Regions from separate parts of the Homo sapiens genome. Here all the other regions are linked to region 1. Evidence: promoter capture Hi-C in 16 types of primary human blood cells and fetal thymus (Javierre and others, 2016). All regions are on one chromosome and are shown on one strand. Each heading gives the region's core, a stretch centred on a gene start or on the middle of the fragment in contact. The rest is flanking DNA. Distances are from core to core; before and after follow the strand shown.

Region 1 (2,579 bases), core at 53-2,552:
CCAAAACTCTCATAATGGCCTAATTAGGTAATGTAACACAGGATGTACTCTTTTCTCACTTTTTCTTCTAAGAAACAGAGCCTTACTCTGTCACTCAGGCTAGAGTGAAGTGGCGTGATCATAGCTCACTGCAGCCTCCAACTCCTGGGCTCAAGTGATCCTCCATTCTCAGTTTCCTGAGTAGCTAGGGCTACAAATGCATGCCATCATGCCTGGCTAATGTTTTTATTTTTAATTATTTTATTTTATTATTATTATTTTTTTGAGATGGAGTCTCGTGCCCAGGCTGGAGTGCAGTGGCGCGATCTCGGCTCACTGCAAGCTCCGCCTCCTGGGTTCACGCCATTCTCCTGCCTCATCCTCCCTAGTAGCTGGGACGACAGGCGCCCACAACCACGCCCGGCTAATTTTTTTTATTTTAGTAGAGACGGGGTTTCACCGTGTTAGCCAGGATGGTCTCGATCTCCTGACCTCGTGATCCACCCGCCTCGGCCTCCCAAAGTGCTGGGATTACAGGCGTGAGCGACCGCGCCCGGCCAAAAAAATGGTCATTTAAAGCTTAAAAAAGCTGTTTGTTAACATGTATATTATTTTTAAATGAATTAGTAACTTAAAAATTTATTACCGTATTAGTAAGAATACAGTAAATATCAATACCCGTACCTGTAATCCCAGCACTTTGGGAGGCCGAGGCGGGCGGATTGCCTGAGCTCCTGAGTTTGCGACCAGCCTGGGCAACACGGTGAAACCCCGTGTCTACTAAAATACAAAAAATTAGCCGGGTGTGGTGGCGGGCGCCTGTCGTCCCAGCTACTCGGGAGGCTGAGGAATTAGAATTGCTTGAACCCGGACAGTGGAGGTTGCTGTGAGCCGAGATCGCGCCACTGCACTCCAGCCTGGGCGACTGAGCGAGACTCCGTCTCAACAATTTTTAAGAGGGTAAAGGGGTTTGGGATGAAATAACTGGAGAACAGCTGCTCAGTAAGAAACAAAGGGCTTCAATCCTGACTCGCGATAGGTTTAATCCAGCCAGAGGCCCTTCCCCAGAGAGCGCCAGTCACCGCCCACCCCATCCACACCCGCAACCGAACGCAGGACCCCCCCGCCCCCTGGTAAGAATCCTGGCAAATAACAGATATTGACGAAATGGCCGGGCTTATATACCATGCATACCCAGGCGAGAACAGGTTCACTGGGCGAGCGAAAACTAGGTCACGTAAGGAAAGGAGTGTCTTCGGCGAATCTTTGCGACACTGTCGTGTTTCAGTGGTTCCGTGCCGTAAAGAGAGGCCGGGAGCTGCCCCTAACCGAGGCAGCAGCGGACGTGAGCGATAATGGCGGATATGGAGGATCTCTTCGGGAGCGACGCCGACAGCGAAGCTGAGCGTAAAGGTGGGTTCGCTGGTCTTCGGAGGATGGGTGCGTGGCAGGCCTTCCGCTGTGGGAGCCGGACAACCGTGGAGGCTCCAGCGCCGCGGGCAAGAGGTGGCGTTTCCTCCACTCCTGCCTCAGCGCCCCCTGCACTCCCGGAGGTGCCATCCTCCTCCGGCGGGCAGGATGGAGAGTCAGACAGTCTGCGCCTCGAGGCTCTGGGTGTCGGTGGAGCAGACGGTTCCTGGGAGCTTGTGGAGCGAAAGGGGCGCGGGGCATGGGTGGAAGTGCAGGCGAGCCTGCGCAGCGCGGGTAGGAACGTTGGAGTCCTGTTCCGCCTTGCCTTGCACAGGCCAGCGTAGAGTAAGGGCTGTTTTTGAATGAATGGAAATGAATGCAGGAATATGGGATGGGGTGGGCGAATTTACAGAGGGCCTCAGAATGCCGTCTTGAATGAAACCAGAGCATGGTGTGATAGGGAGCTTGAGATGTCTGGATGACGAGTCTGGGACGGATAATGGGATGGGGTTACAGATAGATGTTTCACATAGGAGAGAATGTGTTCTCTAAGAGCTTGTGCAGAAACTCCAGAATTTCCGGAGTCTGTGATGTTAGATTGGGGAGTGCATGGGGTCTGTGTACAGAGAGGAGGAATGAAGGATTTGTTGATGAAATGAATGAATTAGTGTATGTGCATGCTGCTTGGAAGTTATTTCTGGCACAGGATTGTGGGTGTTTTTTTAAAGTTTACTTTTTTAGAGACAGGGTCTCACTGTGTTGCTCAGGTTGGCCTTGAACTTCTGGGCTCAAGCCATCCTTCTGCCTCAGCCTCCAAGTAGTTGAGACTACGGGCACTTGAAATATGAATAGGAGCTATTTGAAGTGAGAACCCAAGACCAAGTTCAGAATTCTTGCAACCCTCTAGGCTCCAAGTAAAGTGAGTCTCTTGTAGACAACATATATCTAGTTGTTATTTTCATCACCCCCAAATAAAACACTGTTCATAAAGCACTTACTCCTCATATGCTCCTTCCTCCAACCCCTGTCTGCTATTGTTTCTGTACTTATCTGTTCTGGGAATTTCATATAAATTGAATCATGCATTGTGGTCTTTTGTGTCTGGTTTCTTTTACTTAGCATAATGTCTTCAAGGCATTGTAGCACATATCAGTACTTTATTCATTTTTAATGATTTAATAATATTCCAT
Region 2 (2,579 bases), core at 26-2,525, 660 kb before region 1:
ACAGTATCATGAACTAAAATTCAGATGAAATTAGTCTTTTCCACTTTAAGATGTTTTTAGTTAATGGGTATACAGCTACCTTCCTATAATGAAGGAAAACTTATTTAAGAAATACTGTCTGGTCAGGTGCAATGTAATCCCAGCACTGTCAGCCTACACCTGTAATCCCAGCACTTTGGGAGGCTGAAGCTGGAGGATCGCTTGAGGCCAGGAGTTTGAGACCAACTTGGGTAACATAGCAAGGCTCCTGTCTCTACAGAAAAGTTTAAAAAAATAGCTGGGCATGATGGCGCATTCCTGTAGTCCTAGCTACTTGGGAGCCTGAGGTAGAAGGATCACTTGAGTCCAGGAGTTTGAGGTTACAATGGGACTGCCTATTCAATTTCAAAACACACTTTGAACCATGCAATTTCTTGGGTTAGCATTGTGTTTTAGAACACTTTAGTTATTTGTCCAGCCAACGAGGAAATCTAACTTTTCGTCAGTAGCTTTCAGTTTGAGTGTTAAATTCGAGATATGTTGCTTGCTTTAAAACTTGTTTCTTACATTAAAAAATGTAAAATGCATTCTAGAAATTATATATATATGGCAAACTAATTTGCCATAACACATAGGCGTAGGTGTTTGTCCTATTACTTGGATTTATCAGCTCTGTATCCTTTGGAAAGTTGAACAATATTGTAAGTTGAATATTGTCTTTTTTCCCTTTATACCATAATTCTTCACCTTAATATTTTCATCAACTCATAAAATCTTAAAGTTGGAAGACTTTTTTTAAGAAGTGGTGTACTTTGATAGTTAAAGTAACCTAGAACAAAAGAGGTTAATATGGGAGAATGTGGACCTCATGAAATCCAGCACAGTGCTTATTTTTCACTAACTAGTACCACCTTACAAACAGTGAGACCTAGGCAAGAGTGAGATGTGCAGAATTCCCAGACTTCAGTTTTCCACATACATGCTGAAATTTTAAAAACAGGTTTATTTTGTCATACATGAGACAATGTGAATTTTTTAAAATTATGAAGCATATCATAGCTACAAAGAGCATATACATTAAAGATGGTTTAGAGAACAGCAAAATGACCTCCCATGCAGTTGCTACTCAGCTTGAGAAGCAGAACCTTGTGTGCTGACTCCTGTGTTCCTCTCCTCAGGTACATCCCCAAAATATCCACTGTTCTGAATTCTGTGTTGTCTCTTTTAAAATATTTTATCACATATATAACCATAAACTATGTTGTTTAGCTTGTTTTTTAAACTTTTATGCAAATAGAATCATCCTATAGTGTTCTACAACCTGTATGTAGCTGTAGGTTATTATTCTTGTACTTACGTTTACTCCTGTATCCCATTATATGAGTGTATCACAGCATTCATTCTATGGACGATAAACACTTGTTTTTTCCAAAATTTTGTTGTTATAGACAGTGCTTCTTTGAACATTCTTATATTAGTCTCCTAGCATACATGTACAAGATTTTCTCTAGGTTATTTACCTAGGAGAGTAATTGAGTTGTAGAGTATGTACTTCTTAACTAGGTAATGCCAGGTTATTTTTGAAAGTGTTTGCACCAGTGTGTACCTTTACTAGCAGTGTATGACCACTTCTGTTGCTCTATACCTTTAGCAATATTTAGTCAATTTTCCTGCACAATCCTTTGAATGTGAAATCATATGTAATTGTAGTTTTAATTTGTATTTTGCAATGATTAAGGAGTTCTACATCTTATATTCATTAACCTTTCAGGATTCTTAGGTGAAATATTCTAGATATTCATCTTTTGTCAGCATTTGCATTGCAAATATTTTCTTTGTTTTTGGCATGTCTTCTCAGTCTCTGTGGTGCCTTTGGTGTAGCACTTCATCTTCCTTAGTCCATAGGAACCTTCGTAATGCCTGTGGTTTAATAAAGACAAGTAACTCTGAACTTTCAACAACCAACTTGGGAAACAAAGTTGTAGAACATTAGTTTTTAGAAATTTGGGGCTACTTTTAAGCTATATTTATAGGAGTGCTAGTAGAACACATGTGAGGAATACAGGGAGGCCTACTTTGGGATGTTTGAAAGATGGGAGTCTGGGAAAAGAACTTGTTCAGAACACACAGGAAACAAAAGTACAGTAATGACTTTCCTTAGGTACCCCACCACCACCAACGTCCTGCCCTAACCTGTTGAACTTCCTCTAGCTCTAATTTTACTCTATTGTATACAAATATTTTTTGTTTTTTGTCTTATTTTCCTGCTGTATATTGTTTCTACTTCATTTGTTTTGTTTCTCCCTGCTGCTTCCCCAATTCTGTCTTCATTTTGATTTCAATTCTTAATTACTTATCCTTCTAGTCTTTTCTTTTTTTTTATTTTTTAATTTTTTTTAGATGGAGTCTTGCTCTGTTGCCCAGGCTGGAGTGCAGTGGCACAATCTCAGCTCACTGCAACCTCTGCCTCCCGGGTTCAAGCGATTCTGCTGCCTCAGCCTCTCGAGTAGCAGAGATTACAGGTGCCCGCCATCAGGCCCAGATAATTTTTGTATTTTTAGTAGAGACAGGATTTCACCATGTTGGCCAGGCTAGTCTCG
Region 3 (2,579 bases), core at 39-2,538, 640 kb before region 1:
TAGTTCAAAGTTGTTCTTGGTAAATCAAGTTTTCCATTACTTCTTATAAATTATTTTAATGTATCATGTCTTTGAATTCCTCTATGTAATAAAATTGAGATAGTATTTATATTTGGCACTAAAATGAGTAAATATAGTACTTGCATTTAGTAATTGTGACTTCAAGTGACATCGTAAGTGTATTCCTATGCTCTTCAAAGCACAAATCCTGAGTGATAAGTTTATGGATCTCAGCTTCTGCCATTCTAAAATTCAGTCATTTTGTACTTGCCTACATTTAAATTATGCTTTGTTACTTCCTTAGGAATGGTGACCGATTTATTGAAGAGAAGACGCTTCTGTTGGCTGTCCGCTCATTTGTGTTTTTTTCTCAGTTAAGTGCATGGCTGAGTGTTTCTCATGGTGCTATTCCACGAAATATTCTCTACAGGTATGTCTAGGGCCAAAAAAAAAGGACAGTGCGTATTCAGCCACCTTGGTTAGCAACCGAATGGCATTTTACCTTTTAAATAGATTATTTCCTGCAATTCTAAATGTAAGTGGATAAAATTTACTGAGGTTTTTCAAAACAAGTTAGAGAGATTTGGATTGACTCAATATGAATTTTGTTTGTTGTATTAAATTTGGTATGAATAATATCAAGAGAACTTTTAAGCTTACTTTAGAGAACCAATGGACTTAATGCTGCTATTATAAAGTAGAAAAGTTTTCTGAGCTGCTGAATTTTTATGTTTGACTTAATTTTTGGCATCTTGGATAATGTAAACATATAGGCTGCTAAACAGCTAACTGGCTTTTTAGGCAGATGGCCATGAGATAGGGTGTCTCTTAATCACCTTGCACAATGGAATTAGCTGAATCCATTTATGTGCTAGCAATTACAAAGTCCTTTTTTCTGTTTTAACAAATATTTTTAAGTTATAATATTCTTGAGCTTTAATGCTTAAGTGATCTGGTGTTCTTAAAAAGATCATCTCTTCCAAGCATAAGCTATTATATCACTTACATTGGTTTTATCAGAATTATATGCATGGTAAAGTGGCTAAAAGTAAACCTCAGTGGTAATTAACGCAAACAAAAATAAGTGTATGACTGCTTTACATTTAAAATAATATACAATAATAAGGATCTAACCTTTATAATCCAATAATACAGTATTTTTCTGTGTGATTCTAGAATCAGTGCTGCTGATGTAGACCTACAGTGGAATTTTTCACAGACTCCAATTGAGCATGTGTTTCCTGTTCCCAATGTTTCTCACAATGTTGCCTTGAAAGTCAGTGTTCAGTCCTTGCCCAGACAATCTAATTATCCAGTTTTGACGTGCAGTATTCACACTAATATTGGCCTTTATGAGAAAAGAATTCAACAACATAAACTTAAAACTCATCAGCACCATAACCCAAATGAAGCAGAACAATGTGGTACAAACAGTTCACAGCGTCTGTGTAGCAAACAAACTTGGACCATGGCACCTGAAAGTGTGTTACATGCAAAAAGTGGCCCAAGTCCAGAATATACTGCAGCTGTCAAAAATATCAAACTATATCCAGGCACTGGCAGTAAATCTGACCATGGGACATCTCAAGCCAATATTCTAGGCTTTAGTGGTATAGGTGATATAAAATCACAAGAAACATCAGTGAGAACTTTAAAATCATTTTCAATGGTTGATTCCAGTATCTCTAACCGCCAGAGTTTCTGGCAGTCAGCTGGTGAGACTAACCCTTTAATAGGCTCTTTAATTCAGGAGCGGCAAGAAATCATTGCAAGAATTGCCCAACATTTGATTCATTGTGATCCAAGCACTTCACATGTTTCTGGACGTCCATTTAATACTCAAGAGTCTAGTTCACTCCATTCAAAACTTTTCCGGGTTTCACAAGAAAATGAGAACGTGGGAAAAGGTAAAGAAGCTTTCTCCATGACTTTTGGTAGTCCAGAGTTTAGTTCCCCAGAAGACACCAATGAGGGGAAAATTCGACTAAAACCAGAAACTCCTCGAAGTGAAACTTGTATTTCTAATGACTTTTATTCTCATATGCCTGTTGGAGAGACTAATCCTTTGATAGGCTCTTTACTCCAGGAGCGGCAAGATGTTATTGCAAGGATTGCTCAACACTTGGAGCACATTGATCCAACAGCATCACATATCCCCCGGCAGTCATTCAACATGCATGACTCCAGTTCGGTTGCATCTAAAGTGTTTAGGAGTTCATATGAAGACAAAAATTTGTTGAAGAAAAATAAGGATGAGTCCTCAGTTTCCATTTCTCACACAAAATGTTCCTTGTTAGGAGACATCAGTGATGGGAAAAACTTAGTACCTAATAAATGTTTTACTTCTTTTAAAAATAATAGTAAAGAAAAGTGTTCTTTGAAACATCAAACAAGAAATCAGTGTCAGAACAATCCTAGTGAAATCATCCAAAGTACGTATCAGGAGACACAGAACAAAAGTTCTAGTTTATCAACTTCCTCAATTTTGTCTCAGCACAAAGAAAATAACTTAGATTTGACAAGCAGATTCAAGGAGCAAGAAATGAGCAATGGAATTGATAAACAGTATTCAAATTGCA
Region 4 (2,579 bases), core at 35-2,534, 600 kb before region 1:
CCTGAGTGACAATGTGACACCTTATCTCTAAAAAAAAAAAATTAATAATCTATTGCTAAAAAATACTAACAATCATCTGAACCCTCAAGGAGTCATAATCTTTTTGCTGGTGGAGGATCTTGCCTGGATGTTGATGGCTGCTGACTGGTCAGGATAGTGGTTGCTGAAGGTTGGAGTGGCTGTGAGAATTTCTTAAAATAAAACATCAATGAAGTTTCTCATCAATTGACTCTTCCTTTCACGCAAGATTTCTCTGTAGCATGCAATGCTGTTTGATAGCATTTTACATACCCACAATAGAACTGGTTTCAAAACTGGAGTCAGTCCTCTCAAATCTTTCCACTGCTTTATGAGCTAAGTTTATGTAATATTTTAAAATATTTTATTGTAGCAATCAATCTGAAAACGAAAGCAATTACATTTACAATAGCTACAAAAAAAGTAAAATACCTAGGAATAAATTTAAGTGAAGAAGTGAAAGACCTCTATGAGGAAATTTATAAAACACTGATGAAAGAAATTGAAGAGAACACACACAAAAATGTAAAGCTATCCCTTGCTCATGGATTGGAACAGTTAATATTGTTAAAATTTCTATACTACACAAATTGTACTACAAAACTATAGTAACCAAAACAGAATAGTACTGGCACAAAAACAGACACATAGACCAAAGGAACAGAATAAAGAACCCAGAAACAAATATACAGCCAACCCATTTTTGACAAAGGTGCCCAGAACATACACTGCAGAAAGGACAGTTTCTCTGGTAAACAGTTCTGGGAAAATGATATCCATATGCAGAAGAATGAAATTAGATCCTTATCTTTCACCATATACAAAAATCAAGTCAAAATGGATTAGAGATTTAAATGTAAGACCTGAAACTACTAAAAAAATACACTGAGTAAATGCTCCAGGACATTGGTCCGGGCAAAGACTTTTTAGGTAACACCTCAACAGGTGTTGCACAGGCAACAGGCCGGGCGCGATGGTTCACGCCTATAATCCCAGCACTTTGGGAGGCCAAGGTGGGTGGATTACCTGAGGTCAGGGGTTCAAGACCAATCTGACCAACATGGTGAAACCCCATCTCTACTGAAAACACAAAAATGAGCCAGGTGTGGTGGTGCCTGCCTGTAATCCCAGCTACCCGGGAGGCTGAGGCAGGAGAATTGCTTGAACTCGGGAGGCGGAGATAGCAGTGAGCCGAGATCGCACCATTGCACTCCAGCCTGGGTGACAGAGCAAGGCTCCATCTCAAAAAGAAAAAAAAAAAAAAAAAAGCACAGGCAACAAAAGCAAAAATAGACAAGTGGGATTACATCAAGCTAAAAATCTTCTGCATAGCAGAGTAAACAAGTGAAGAGAAGAGAAGCTACAAAGAACATTTGCAAACTTCCATCAAACAAGAGATTGAATATATAAGCAACCCAAACAATAGCAAAAAAAAAAAACCCAAATAATCCAATTTTAAAATGCACAAAAGACCTGACTAGACATTTCTCAAAAGAAGACATATGGCTGTGTACAGTGGCTCAGGCCTGTAATCCCAGCACTTTGGGAGGCCGAGGTGGGCAGATCACTTGAGCTCAGAGTTCAAAACCAGCCTGGACACCACAGTGAGACTCTCTCTACAAAAAACTACAAAAATTATCTATGCGTGGTGGCACACACTTGTAATCCCAGCTACTTGGGAGGCTGAGGAGGACTGTTTGAACCTGGGAGGCAGAGGTTGTAGTGAGCCAAGATCACACCACTACACTCCAGCCTGGACAACCAAGTGAGACTCTGTCTCAAAAAAAAAATGTTAATTAAAAAAAAGAAAAGAATTCAGATCCTTGGCCAGGTGCAGTGACTCATGCCTGTAATCTTGGCACTTTGGGAGGACAAGGTAGATGGATCACTTGAGGTCATCAGGAGTTGGAGACCAGCCTGGCCAACATGGTGAAACCCTGTCTAAAAATTAGCCAGGTGTGGTGATGCATCCTGTAATCCCAGCTACTCGGGAGGCTGAGGCACGAGAATCGCTTGAACCCAGGAGGCAGAGGTTGCAGTGAGCCACTGCATTCCAGCCTGGGTTGGCAGAGTGAGACTCTCTCTCAAAAAAAAAGAAAGAAAGGAAATCAGTGTGTCAAAGAGATATCTGCATTCCCATGTTTACTGAAGCACTATTCACAATAGCCAAGATATGGAGTCAACCTAGGTGTCCATCAATGGATGAATAGGTATAGAAAATGTAGTATACATACATAATGGAATATTATTCAGCCATAAAAAAGAATGAAATTCTGTCATTTGCAGCAACTGGATGGAATTTGGGGTCATTATGTTCAGTGAAATAAAAGTCAGAGGAAGTCAAATGTAGCATGTTCTCACTCATATGGGAGCTAAAAAAAGTGGATCTCATGGAGATAGAGAGAGGAATGGTGATTACCAGAAGCTGCGAAGGAAGAGGGGAGAGGAGGATGAAGAGAGGTTGGTAATGAATACAAATGAAGTTTCTGTTGTCATTTCAACAACATTCACAGCATCTTCATCAGGAGTAAATTCCATCTCAAGAAACCAGTTACTTTGCT

The links. Contacts are between HindIII fragments. The CHiCAGO score rates a contact against its expected background, and 5 or more counts as called.
Region 2: a contact is called between a fragment that was not itself captured here and the fragment with the promoter of LEO1 in region 1, in 2 of 17 cell types (total B cells and naive CD8 T cells). The highest score is 5.6, in total B cells.
Region 3: a fragment that was not itself captured here is called in contact with the fragment with the promoter of LEO1 in region 1 in 1 of 17 cell types (naive B cells); the score reaches 6.5 in naive B cells.
Region 4: a contact is called between a fragment that was not itself captured here and the fragment with the promoter of LEO1 in region 1, in 1 of 17 cell types (naive CD8 T cells). The highest score is 5.3, in naive CD8 T cells.

Annotation. Positions count from the first base shown.
Region 1 is chr15:51,970,501-51,973,079 of GRCh38, reverse strand. LEO1 (LEO1 component of Paf1/RNA polymerase II complex) reads left to right here and starts at 1,302. Exons shown (of 12, transcript NM_138792.4): 1 at 1,302-1,392. The coding sequence starts at 1,335. It also overlaps a transcript of MAPK6 not described here. RefSeq lists enhancers at 1,033-1,608, 1,256-1,785, 1,609-2,185. The HindIII fragment of the contact is 6,227 bases long and covers 561-2,579 here.
Region 2 is chr15:52,629,599-52,632,177 of GRCh38, reverse strand. All of the region lies in intron 2 of ATOSA (atos homolog A), which reads left to right. Among named protein-coding and RNA genes, the nearest start is that of ATOSA, 48 kb to the left of the region's middle. The HindIII fragment of the contact is 4,403 bases long and covers 1-2,579 here.
Region 3 is chr15:52,608,981-52,611,559 of GRCh38, reverse strand. ATOSA (atos homolog A) reads left to right here. Exons shown (of 13, transcript NM_001385016.1): 5 at 305-430; 6 at 1,177-2,579. Among named protein-coding and RNA genes, the nearest start is that of ARPP19, 41 kb to the right of the region's middle. The HindIII fragment of the contact is 1,261 bases long and covers 658-1,918 here.
Region 4 is chr15:52,574,187-52,576,765 of GRCh38, reverse strand. No RefSeq gene overlaps it. Among named protein-coding and RNA genes, the nearest start is that of ARPP19, 6.4 kb to the right of the region's middle. The HindIII fragment of the contact is 4,599 bases long and covers 1-2,579 here.